Linked DNA regions of Homo sapiens: region 2 is linked to region 1. The links are contacts of gene promoters, found by promoter capture Hi-C in blood cells and fetal thymus (Javierre and others, 2016). All regions are on one chromosome and are shown on one strand. Each heading gives the region's core, a stretch centred on a gene start or on the middle of the fragment in contact. The rest is flanking DNA. Distances are from core to core; before and after follow the strand shown.

Evidence for each region. The method cuts DNA at HindIII sites, captures the fragments that hold promoters and counts their contacts. A CHiCAGO score of 5 or more calls a contact.
Region 2: a fragment that was not itself captured here is called in contact with the fragment with the promoter of CCR2 in region 1 in 1 of 17 cell types (monocytes); the score reaches 5.0 in monocytes.

Annotation. Positions count from the first base shown.
Region 1 is chr3:46,349,401-46,356,171 of GRCh38, reverse strand. It overlaps CCR2 (C-C motif chemokine receptor 2), which reads right to left and starts at 2,061. Exons shown (of 2, transcript NM_001123396.4): 1 at 1,995-2,061. RefSeq lists an enhancer at 5,795-5,944. The HindIII fragment of the contact is 10,451 bases long and covers 1-6,771 here.
Region 2 is chr3:46,280,974-46,287,629 of GRCh38, reverse strand. No RefSeq gene overlaps it. Among named protein-coding and RNA genes, the nearest start is that of CCR3, 42 kb to the right of the region's middle. The HindIII fragment of the contact is 3,907 bases long and covers 2,022-5,928 here.

The DNA of each region.
Region 1 (6,771 bases), core at 812-3,311:
CCCATTGCCTGATGCATATCTCCCCATGCATGTATTCACTGCATCAACACTTATTGAACACCTACTATGAACCATACTCAGTTTTAGGCACTGAAGTGAGCAAAGTGGGTATCATGCAGGGACCTCAAATTCAACCCACCCCAAATGGGGCACTGCTGAAAACTCCTTCCGATTGTGGATTCCTCCATTGCCTAAGAAGCAAAATTGGGCATTGCCCTGGGTTGCTTCTCCTTCTGAAAATTAGGAGCCAGTTTTTGGAGCCAAACAAACCTGGATTTGAATCCTTATAGGCAGTGTAATCTGGGGCCAATTACTCCTTCAAGTGCCGATTTCTTTATGCATAAAATATTAACTATGCTGAGTTGCTGTGAAGATCAATGGAGTAAGGACTTAGGACAGCATCTGACACAGAGAAATGCCCTGTATTATTATCATGTCATTTGAGTTCCACCTCATAGATGCCTCTCAGATTCATCCCCTCTGCACTGCTTTCAACTGTCACTTTCTTGCTTCACACACTCCTCACTCCTGGCTTTGTTGTAGTCTTTCCTTTGCTCATGGCTCATCTCAAGCCATGTTCCCTCTCAACCTATCTTCTCTTAAGTTGAAATTGAATAGTCACTCTTAGCTTAAAACCTCCAGTAGCCCTATGACTTATATGTGGTGGGCTTCAAAGATAATGTCCAGACTGCCCAGCACAACATCTTTTCTGAGTTTGCCTCTTTTCAGCCTCACCTCCAGTCCCTTCTCCAATCCCAAATCCTGTGCTTCAGTCACAGCCATCTTCTCTTCATTTTCCCTAAACTCACCATTTCCTTCATGCTTCAGTGGTTTTGCAGGTCCTTGCCCCTCTGCCCAAAATGATTGGTGAGCTTCTATTCACCCTTCAATACCTCCTGCTCAAATCCCCCTTCTCTGTGAAGCCTAATCTGTATCCTCTGTCATATTACTCTTATCACATAACACTGCATGCATCTAGATAAGCACTTATTATGTTATCTGCTACACACAGCATGTTCCTCAAGATCAAGGACTGGATTATGCTTCTATTTTCAGCTCTTATGATAGTACCTGGCTAAAGGAGGCACCAATAAATGTTCACTGAATGAGTACATAAAACTCTTTATAATAAGAACTATAAGCCCTAACATCATCAGGACTTGATTCTCAAGAATTTTTTTTCTGGCAGTGACTGTGAATTTCTTTTCCACCCACCTGTATACTTTATCCTTCCATTTCTCTTGCAATTGACACTTTTCACAAGTCTTGTATTTCATATCACTGAGCCAGATTCTTGAAATCTGGAGAAGCTAAATAAGACCTCTGATCAAAGTTGGAAAAAAATGCATCTGCCTAAAGAATCACAACTGTGGTCATTAATTGAGTGCTCCTGAAGCTCAGATGCTATGTTAAATGCTGTGCACACATTACTTAATTTCATTTTTACAACTGGCTAGCATGTAGCTTCTACTACAGTGAACAATGAGCAAGATGCCTGAAATGTGCTGTCCTAGGTGTCATTTCAAGTGTCAGAACATGTCACCCAGAACTGATAGAAATCTATCTTTCAGAAAATAAATTCCTTACTTCTGCCTCTGTGGATCTCCTGAGTTGAGGCAAGGGACACATTTTGGTTCAGAGCTTGGATGGTCCTATATTTAGACTAACAGTTCCAGCTCTTTAACGTCCTTGGGTGCTCAGAGGGGCAGAGTGAGCCCCTGGGTGTGTGGACTGGTGACTGAGCAGAGTGGCTGTCCTGGCCTCGCTTGCTGCCCACTCTCCCCCATCACCTGCTGCACGCTGCTCTTCCTCAGGGTTTCTCTAACATCTCCTGGTGCACATGCCATCCCCACCCCTGCCTCTCATCTTGATCATTCCCCCCAAGTGTGCAGGCTTTGCAGTTCCCCAGGGTGTACCCAGACCCGGCATTTCCAGCTTTGAGGTGCGTTGAGCCTATGAATCAGAAAGTAATGGAAAAAATGCCTACAACTCACCAGCTTGTGGCTTGTCTCAGGCAGTCCTGGTATGTCAGGCTTCTCAGCAACTGAACCAAACAGATCTAGAGGTAGAAACTTGGCATGCAGAAGTAGGAAATAAAGTTTCCTGCAGAAAGTGAAGGCGGAGATACAGGGCAACTAATGGTAAAGATTTGAAAAAAAAAATCAGAAAAATATAGTTCTTCTTTTCCAGTCAGGAACATTGTACATTGGGTTGAGGTCTCCAGAATAGGATTAATTTTGAAATCTTGCTTATGCAACCTTGAGTGTGAGTCAGGCAAACCCTGTACATCTGCTCCTGTTTCTAACGACTCTGAGCTTCTTTATCTTGTGGGTCTTTATACCTGGAACATTTCCACTCTCTGCTCTCCTACTAGTGATAATTTGCATGATATGAGCACAACAGAATGTTTCATGTTCCAGAGAATAAAGGGTATTGGTGATAGTGGAGGAAGTATAATGAGGTTTTACTGCGATCATGTGTGCTGGTTTCAGTGGTATCATGGATTCAGAATCTGGTTAGAAATTTCATTTAGATAAGACTTTAAAATTTTTTTTTATTTAATTCACATAATAATTGTATATATTTATGGGACACAATGTGATGTTTTGCTACATGTATACATTGTGCAATGATCAAATCAGGGTAATTACATATCCATCCTCTGAAACATTTATCATTTCTTTTGAAATAATAATGATATTGAAAACCCTCTCTTCTAGCTATTTATATATACAGAATTCATTATTAACTACCGTCACCCTACTTGGAGCAGAGCACCAGCACTTGTTTCTCCTATCTCATGGTAACTTTGTACCCGTTGATCAACTGCTGCCCATTCTCACCTCCTCTCTTTCCTCCCCAGTCTCTGGTAACCACTGCTCTACTGTCTTTTTCTAAGATAGCAACTTTTTTTTTTTTTTTAAATTGGGTTTCATTCTGTCACCCAGACCGGAGTGCACTGGCACAGTCTCAGCTCACTGCTACCTCCACCTTCTGAGTTCAAGCCATCCTCCCACCTCAGCCTCCTGAGTAGCTAGGATTACAGGTGTGTGCCATCATGCCCGGCTAAGCAACTTATTTAAAAAAAAATTCCACATAAGAGTGAGATCACGTGGTATTTGTCTATCTGTGTGTGGCTTATTTCACTTAACATCCTCTAGGTTCATCCACATTATCACAAATTACAGGATTTCAAACTTTTTAATGAAAAGGAAATGCTAAATTATCTCTTGTGTCAGGAACGTCCTTAGCAAGAAGAACCTCAGTTATTTTAAATGCCCCTCCTTGGAAAGACGTTTTGTTAAAAGATAATGTAAATTTTGCAATGGGGACATCAGACTAGGAGCATTCCTAAGATTGTGCAGAGAACATGGTGTCATCTAAGTTGGCCCCTGGCACTTTCTGGAATCCAGCAGACACCGGAGGCAGGATCTCATGCTGTGGACTTGGCAAGTTTCTAAGTTTCCATTTCCCAAATATGAAATATGAATAACAAGACTGGGGGTCTATGAGGGTAAATGGACCTAAAGCAGCTAGAGCAGGGTCTGGCAGGCACTCCACAGGTAACAAACAGAACAGAACAGTCTGAGCCCTGCAGAGTGCCAGAGGTTGAAGGATGCATCCACTGCTAGAGCCAACAACAATCAAATGCTCAGGGCAGTCCAGGTGTCCTTTCCAGATTTCAAGAAGTTGGCTTTTTTGCTGTTGTTGTTGTTGTTGTTGTTGTTGTGTTATGTTGTGTTTTTGCTTTCTTTTGCGACAAGATCTTGCTCTGTTGCCTAGGCTGGAGTGCGGTGGCATGATCATGCTTCACTGCAGTCTCAACCTCAAGCAATCCTCTCATCTCAGCCTCCCAAGTAGCTGAGACTACAGGTGCATGCCACCATGCCTGACTATTTTTTGTAGAGATGGGGTTTTGTCATGTTGCCCGGGCTGGTCTCGAACTCCTGGGCTCAGGCAATCTGCCTGCCTCAGCCTCCTGAAGGGCTGGGATTACAGGTGTGAGCTCCTACACCCAGCCCAGATTTCAGTCAGTTGTAACCATGTGTCCTGTGTAAGACCTGGTATATGTGCTAAGTAAGACCTGAGACTTGAAGGGTCTCAGGTTTTTTCTTGGAAGACAGCTCATTGCCTGTTCAGGAACATAGCAAGTTCCCCAGTTGTCTCTCAATGTGTCTCTGGGCCGGAATTGGAGCATATCTCTGAGATTTCAATAATAAGACAGGTCATCCCTGACCTGGTAACACTGAGCTTGCTGCCACTTCTGGAATCTCCTGACCCTGGCATCTTGCCACCTGTTCCTATGATTCAACCCAGGATGGGGAAGAGCAAGAGCCAGAAATTTTGCTCTGGCTGATTAGGACCGCTCTCCAATTTTGTCTTCACATTGTGATCTTTGTCTCCAGCCCTGTAATTTCATAAACAAGGAGAGGCACAGAGGTAGATAGTTGCAGAGCCAGGATTCAAACCTTTGGCTTATACTGACACAGAGGGCAGGATAACAGAGGGCACCCTCCGCTGAGATTTTGAAGAGACAGTATAGAATGAAAATATTTTTGGAGGGGTGAGCAGGCTTAAAAGAAGCAACAGGGATGGTGAGGTGGTCTGTCATCCCTATGCTTTGTGGGAGACCAGAATTTGACACCCTAAAATGTACCTCTTTTGCATAAGGATTGTTGAGCTGAAGGCAATTAAGAAGCAGATGAAGGAAAGCTCTTTTCCCTCCCTTTATTTGTCTAAAAGCAGGATATAGACTTACAAAGACAAAACGGATCTGCACCCCCCTCCACACCTTCTGCCAGGGTGAACAAAGGTTCACCACTGAAGACAAATTTAAATCCTTGTGGACCTGGAGATGGCACCAGAGGAATCTTCATTAACAAGTATTACTAACCAGCCTTTACCTCCATTTATTCCTTTTGCCTTCCTACAAGTCACTGTCCCTAGAGGCTCAAAGTTCATTTTCTTTGTCTTGTCATATCTCTAAAATGTTACTGAACTTTGTTGAAGATGCTATATGAGCTGGAATTCAAAGTCACCTTTTTAAGAATTATTCATTCCCTGGATAGCTCCTATGTACGTATAAAATATGTACGTTAATAAACTTTTCTCGTGTTAATCTGTCTTTTGTTACAGGGGTCCATTCCAAGAACTTATGAGCATTGAGGAAAAAATTATTTTTTTCTTCCTTAACAGCTAGAAGGATCAAAAGAATAAACAATACCACTTGAGTGCTACAGACAGCTGGAATTGAGAGCTGCAGGTTGATGGCTCAGCCACTGCTAGAAGTTCAGCAAAGCAGTAGGACAGCAGGGGCAGAAAGTATCCTAACCTCCTTCTCCCACTCTGACCTCCTACCAGTGCTTCCCAGTGACTGAACCAGATGGGAAGAGGGAATAATGGACAGTCTAGGCAATGTAGCCCCTAAAATCAGCATCCTGGGACTCAGAGTGGATCTGGGGGAGTGTGGCAAATAACCACACAACCGTCAAGTCAAACAAATTTTTTTCTTGCAACTTTCTTCTTACCTCGTCCATATATTAATAGATAGTTAGAAAATTGGGAATCTTGATCAGTACATCTTAGAATTCTTTATGCACACGGAGAGAGTTAAAAAGGATGTTTTTTCATGAGTTTGAGAATTCTGTATCTACCCATTGGCACTGGGTTCATGGTTTCTAAGGTTCCCAGTCTCAATGATGAGTATGGCCCTTCGAGCAGGCTTGAAGGAAAGTATGTCACAAGCCACTGAGCTCTGATGTGCCTGCTGACCAAGCAGGATTACATAGAAGGCAGGGCTGTGGTCACCTCAAGGTGACATGGGGCAAGGAAGAGGAGAAGCTCAATTTTTCTGCAAGCCAATGATATGAGAATAGTTTATGCTCCCCAAATAACAAAAGAAGACCCAGAATGCTGGCCCTAAGATGTTTAAGATCTTGTTTATTTTTACACTCAAGGTCAGCAGTTGAGTTGGGGATTAGGCCATTGAAACTGAAAGTTAGAGTTGTACTCAGAACCTCTCTGCCACTCCATGGATGGCAAGAACATGTGAGAGAAAGCATAGCTAGAGAGAATTGGTGGTGGGGCAAGAAGACAGAAAAGGTTTTTCAACAGCCTGAAGTACTTTAACGATGCCCTTAGCAATTTCCTAAGTAATGGGCAATAGATTTGTTCAGTTAGTGCCTTTAGAAAATAGAGAAATTCTTGCCTCTTGTCAACACAGATGCTTTTGGTTCATTGCGGTTTTTATGGTTTGCATGCTTCCTGTGACCTACTAAAATAGATTAGTGAGTTCTAGGATTTTACATCTTCAATTCTGGTTAAACATGATCTGGACCAATATGATGCCCACAGAAAAAGCAGTAATTATGTTCCTACCTATCCTGGTCAAGTCTTCATAATAAAAATGAAGCAAACTATTACCACTGTTTTTGTCACAAATGAAAAAGTAACACAACAGGGCATAGAGTCACAGCAAGAAAGCCCAGCAACTGCAAATGATTCTTGGAAAGGAAGTGTCAACTAGCAGAGGGCAGATAAGAATTTCTCCTCCATCTTCTAAGTTCAACTTTGTCTCCAGATGAACCAGGAGTAGACAAGAATGTATGATTAGAAATAGAAATTAAAAGAACAAAATGGTAATTTTGACTTAGAGTGTAAATGCAGCAGATTAGATGTCATACCTTTAGGCCAAACAAACTGTAGGAGAAAAAAGGGGAAATCAGAATCTTTAATACATGTACTTGCTAAAAAGCTGTCTCAAGTGACGGA
Region 2 (6,656 bases), core at 2,726-5,225, 70 kb after region 1:
CAGCCTGGAAAATATGGCAAAACCCCTTCTCTACAAAAAATACAAAGATTAGCTGGGTGTGGTGGCATGCACCTATAGTCCCAGCCAGTTGGGAGGCTGGGGTGGAAGGATCGCTTGAGTCCAGAAGGTCGAGGCTGCAGTGAGACATGATTACAGCACTGCACTCCAGCCTGGGTGACAAAGTGAGAAGACCCTGTCTCAACAAAATAAAAAAAGAAAAGAAGTTGAAGGATTTTGAGATTCATCCAGACTATGATTTCTAGCTAGAGATCCTAGAAAACATTTGCCTGCTGTGCATTCTGCTGTGCACAGAAGGATTACAGACAATAATACTAAGTGTGCTGATATGGTGTCTGATGCCCCTTATATTTAGACGTTCAAAGACAACCAGATAGATATAAAACCAAATGATGCAAGTGCCCTTTTACCTTTTTGCTTACAACCAGCAATTCTGCTGCATTATGCAGTGTTGTAGTTACTTTCTGAAAACACAACTGAAAGGTGTGAACAAAACATTGCACGCTCATGATTCCTAAATCACTCATAGCCTCACCGTGTGCTTCCTGTTGTCTCTGACAACTACAGAATATATATTTTTATATTTTTTAGTATATATATATACACACACATATATATTTTTTCTTGAGACAGAGTCTTGCTTTTTCACCCAGGCTGGAGTGCAGTGGCACAATCTCAGCTCACTGCAACCTCCGCCTCCCGGGTTCAAGCGATTCTCCTGCCTCAGCCTCCCAAGTAGCTGCGACTGCAGGTGCGCACCACCATGCCTGGCTAATTTTTGTATTTTTAGTACAGATGGGGTTTCACCATGTTGGCCAGGCTCATCTCGAACGCCTGACCTCAGATGATCCATCTGCCCCGGCCTCCCAAAGTGCTGGGATTACAGGCGTGAGCCACCACGCCCGACCTATATATATATTTTTTAAGTTCAACAGCATAGTGGAATAACGCTGAATTCTACCATGCTTTGGCTTTACTTGGTTGTGAAGAGGTGTCCGGGTCTTATACAAAAACAACACAGTGAATGAAGGAAGAAATATTTATTGAATGGAAAATCAGCAAAGGAAAAAATTGTATAATTGTCAATGACAATGGGAAGCACATAGTGAAGCTATGAGTGATTTAGAAATCATGAGCATGCAGTGTTTTGTTCACACATTTCAGTTGTGTTTTCAGAAAGTAACTACAACATAGCATCATGTAGCAGAATTGCTGGTTGTAAGCAAAAAGGTAAAAGGGCACTTGCAGCATTTGGTTTTTAGCCAAAGGTAAACTATATGAGATACACAAAATAGTGGACCTGGCTTGATGCACATTCATCCAAAATGTTCCAGTGGCATAGGAAGCATGATGCTTTGGAACAGCCATTTGATCAAAAGAAAGTGTAATCATAAACTTTACAGAAAACAGTACTGGCATCATAGAACTTGCTAACAACCAAGAGTTGCTTGTGGAAAAATAGCTCATTTACGGGAACCAGCTGAAGAAGTCATCTTGAGAGTGCAAATATTTCCGACCCGATACTGCCGTCAAGATCCTCCTCCTCCAGAGGTGTGTGTGCAGTGGAAGCCAAGATGCAGATGGAATCTGAGATTTTTTTTTAAAAAGTATCTAATGCCAATCACATTGCTCCATGGCACATTATTAGATTCAAGGCTTCAGAACAAACTCTTCTCAAGTACTTCTATGGAATCCCATGTGCATGGAAAAATACTAGAAATTTAAAAATAAAAGTCAAGACAATAATCATAAGCCTTTGTCTTAGTTTGGGTTCCCCAGAAGGTGGAGGCTGAGATTGAGACAGTAGAGGTGAGGGACAGGGGAGTAAAGCAGGAAAGGAGAGAGGGCCAGAATGAGGATGCACATGCACCCAACCAGGGGAGCTGCTTGCTAGGCCTCTCAGGACTGCCTGACGAGCTGTGAGATGCTTCTTAGGATTATGAACCTAGGGGAAAAAAGAGATCCCTTTCCCCATCAGATCCGGTCACCCGTTGGTCAAAGCTTTGCCCCACTAGGCATGAGGTCCCCTGCATTTGCAGCTTGCACATGTGTGGGTGCTGAGTGTCAGTGGAGGAGCCCTGAGATAGGGATGAGAGGCATGGCCCAGGCCCAGGCCAGGCACATCCGGCTACAGCTGTGCAAGGCTGGCTGGAGCCCACAGCACAAGAGCCCAAGAGGATTGGAAGTGTTGCCTAAGAGGTGTCCAAATAGAGAGCTTCTGAACATACTCAGAAGACTTCTTTAAGTAGTGCACAAACAATGAAATTGTATTATCATTCATGATGGTATCTTTAATTCCAGGAGTTGAAGAGGAGAGATGCTTTTACCTTAGCTGATTGCCCAGAGAGATAAAGAAAGGAAAGCTGAAAATCTTGGTGACATCATCATGAGCACTCCCTCATACTGGCACAGTAAACACCAAACCCTGCCCTCCTACCGACCTCACTTGGAGGCCTCTGACTTGTATCTTACACTTGCCGCATAGTGACCACAGGAACGTGGAATGCTGACAGTGCTGAGAAGTGGTGGTTTCCTCACCTAGATATCAAACTTTAAAAATCAGAGCAGTCAATTTTAACAATACAGTTGCAATTATAATTACATTTTAAAATACAATTTCAGATTGTTCTTAAATCCCAACAATTTTTTCTATGATGGTGACAGTTTTGGCCTTAGCGTGGCCAGGTACTGATTTTTAGCTAACATTGGACCATTCAACATTTCCCAAAATGTGTAGTTGGTTGGCCTCTAGTTTAGTATTGCTCTAATAATCTGATAATATTCTAGCATCTATAATGGGAAGTGTTTTCTCTGTGTTTGGTTACTAAGGAGTGAATGGCCAAGTTTGTGTTTATGTCTTTCAATTGTCAGTGTCTGGTACACAGTAAGGAATTGTGTTTATAGTTTAATCATACTCTTCTATTCTTATTTTATTATATTTTTGCTCTTACTTCTTCACCTAATAACATCAAGTTTTTAAAAGTTATCAAGTTACAGGCCAGTTGAGGTGGCTCATGCCTTGTAGTCCTGCACTTTGGGAGGCCAAAGCAGGTGGATTACATGAGTCCTAGAGTTTGAGACCAGCCTGGGCAACATGGCAAAACCCTGTCTCTATAAAAAAATACAAAAATTAGCCAGACATGGTGGTGTGCGCCTGTAGTCCCAGCTACTTGGGAGTCTGAAGCAGGAGAATTGCTTGAGCCTGGGAGGTTGAGGCTGCAGTGAGCCATGATCATGACACTGCACTCCAGCCTGAGTGACAGAGCGAGACCCCGTCCAAAAAGAAAAAGTTATCAAGATGTAATAGTGCATAGTTAAGAAATTAGAAATAGCATTTCCTGCCCCATCCCCTCCCCACCCCTGCCCACTCCTATGAGGCAACCACTTTCAACTCTGTTGGCTGTTTCTCTGGTGCTGCCCTAAGTGTTAAGTAACATGCTTATATTGATTGCTACTTCATAATGTATCAATTTTAGACAGAATTTATTGATTTCCTGTTCTTGTAGGTGAGGATTTAGCTTACACTTCCTTCCCCTCCCAACATCCTCTCAATATGGTTTTTTGACAGTTTCTGGTTAAATGACTAGTCAGTGTTCATGTTATTATGACCACATAAGTATTATTCACTGTTGAGCTAATGTTTTATATTCTTGGAGTTAATAGTAGTTTCTTTTGATTTTTTCCATCTGCTTACTTTGTAAAAATACTTATCACCAATTTCCAAAATGCTCAAATTTGATCTGTCATGGGCCCAACAATAATTTTTTAAAATATTCGAAACCTACAAATTTCATGTCCTTTCTCAATACCAGTCTGGACAGGCTTCTGTGGAGGTCCTGGAGATTCCTTTGCCACTGTCCTGTGTTGAACTCATTTCTAAGATCCTAGGATCTCCTCTTTCTTGGTTACCTCTTCATTTTGCTAAAGCATATATTTTGTCTCTTCTTGAGAATGGGTAAATGGAAGGTAAATTGCAAAATCCTTCTGTGTCTAAAAATATCTATATTCAAGCCTCAGTGGATCTCATACGTTGGCTCTGTAGAGATTTCTGGGCTGAACATAATATTTTCTCAAAACTGTGATGCTGTTGCCCCACAGTCTTGTATCAGCCAATGTTGTCATTGAGAATCTGATGTCAAGTCCATTTCTATTCCTTTCTGTTACCTGTTTTTCCCCCTCTTAAAAGCTCTCAATATATTTATCCCTGTTGTTCTGAAAGTTCATAATGATGTGCTCGGAAGAGGGTCTGTGTCCATTTATCCTGGTGGGTACTTGGTACCCCCTTCATCTCACAGACCTGTGTACTTCCATTCTGGGAGTTTTTCCTGAATCACAACAGCAACAACAACAACTACTATTACTGCTACTACTGCTATTACTGCTGCTGCTACTACTACTACTGGGTATTCTACTTTGCGATGACACCCGTTTTTGCTATTCTTGAACTCCTTGAGTCAAATTTTGGATACAAGCCTGGACAGGAGCATGGCAGCAGCCCCTTGGAGGGCGAAGAAATGCTACATCCCTTTCAGCAAAAAAATAAGTCCTGGGTTGTTACTGGACTCCAGGGGACTCTGAGAGTTTGACTATGAGACACCAGCTTACCATGACACTCAGGTTGTTTATTATGAACTGACTGCCACCTGACCTACTTTGCCACAGAGAGACCCAATAACACTGCATCATAAAGGGGAAGTGGGATTATATAGGATGTAATCCACACAGGTTCGAAAGGCAGCATGGGCAGGTTATTCATGCCTATCCCATCCCTAGTCCCAACAACTGCCATCCTCTCCCTTCACCTGGACCTGTGGCCTCCCAGGAAGTTGGCTGCGATGATCTGTCTGAGGATGAAAACACTCATGCCTGTCTTATGGATAGAGGACTCTGCACTTTGCTTGCACCAACCTGAGGTAGATTGTGTTAGATTCAGCCCCTCTCAGGGGTAGCCCTAAAGGACAAGTGGAGAAGACACCTCCCAGGTGGCAGAAATCAAGGTGTTTATCATAGTGTCCTCTTTGCTTCGAAGGAGAGATCACCAAGGGTCAGAATCTACACATATTTCTAGAAAGTGTTTATTATATATGGTTAGATGTAAGGGAAGACAGAAGGAATTAAATGGAAAATTGTTATCAAGATTTGGAGGAGTATGTCAATGGATTTATTTGAATGAGACCCAAACCTAAAAATGTTCATATCTCATGTGAATTCTCACCAAAATGCCCCCCAGGATGGAAGAAACTTGGAAAATAGCACATGCTGGGTCACCCTTCCTATGGCAGCCAGATGATTTCTCAGAGGCTCATGAACAGCGTAAACAGTGGCACAGGGAAGGAGACCAGGCATGGACTCCACACACTGAGGCTATCTGCTTTCACTGGACCTCACCTCTTGCCTGAAGTTGGAGACTCTGATATTTTCTCCGGCTTTATCTTTCACTCTCTGTCAGCCGTGTGTTTTATCAAGACATTGAAGGTTTTTGTTATTCCCGTTTCCCAGGTCCTCTCAGCACAATATTAACCATGTGGACCAAAGTGATGTCCTGTCAGGTGATGCAGTCACAAGGTCCCTGCAGATTACAGTGAGGCAAATCACCTGAAAGTAGCATCACTCCCAGGCAGGATGGCAGCGTGTACTCTGCTCCTGACAGCTGGAGACAAACTGCTTCTTTGGGTGCCTCTCTGTACCAAAAGGGAGAAAACTGTATTTTCCTGATCTGAAGTTAGCAAACTCCAGTGTGTAGGTGCCTGTGTTTGAAAACTAGTTTTACTGGAACACAGCTGTGCCCATGCACTGACATGTTGTCTGTGGCTGCTTTCTTGCTACAACTTCAGAGTTGAGTAGTTGTGACAGAGACCAGCTGGCTTGAAAGCCTAAAATACTTACTATCTGGCCCTTTAGGAAAAAGCTTGCCAGCCCCTACTCTAGACTGGCATCTACATGCCAAATACCATGACTGTAATGATTTGCCTCAGCAAGGGGACCAAACTTAGAAGACAACACACACAGTGAAAGTCACCATCTGATTTAGTCGTAACATTCCATGGCTATTCCCCAAGACCCATCAATTTATTTTATTTTATTATTTTTTAAATTTTTTTACTGGCAAAACTGGAGCATTAAAAGGAGGTATGACAGGAATCAACATATCTGTGTCTTTCTTATCTGTGATGAGACTAATCTGCTATTTTCTTCATAGGATAGAGCGTTGTTTTTGATTTTCTGCTTTGTATGGGCAGGGGGCCTTCAGTGGCTTCCACTTGGGCCTTCCTCTGTTGTAGCCATTATTTACTGTCTGAAAGCCTAATGGGAATCCCATTCTTTTTTTTTTTTTTTTTTTTTTTGAGATGGAGTCTTGCTCTGTTGCCCAGGCTGGAGTGCAGTGGCGCGACCTTGGCTCACTGCAACCTCTGCCTCCCAGGTTCAAGCGATTCTTCTGCCTCAGCCTCCCGGGTAGCTGGGACTACAGGCCGGCACCATCATGCCTGGATAATTTTTGTATTTTTTTTTTTTTTTTAGTAGTTATGGGGTTTCACCATATTGGCCAGGCTGGTCTCGAACTTCTGACCTCATGATCTGCCCGCCTCGGCCTCCCAAAATGCTGAGATTACAGGCGTGAGCCATTGCGCCCGGCCTAC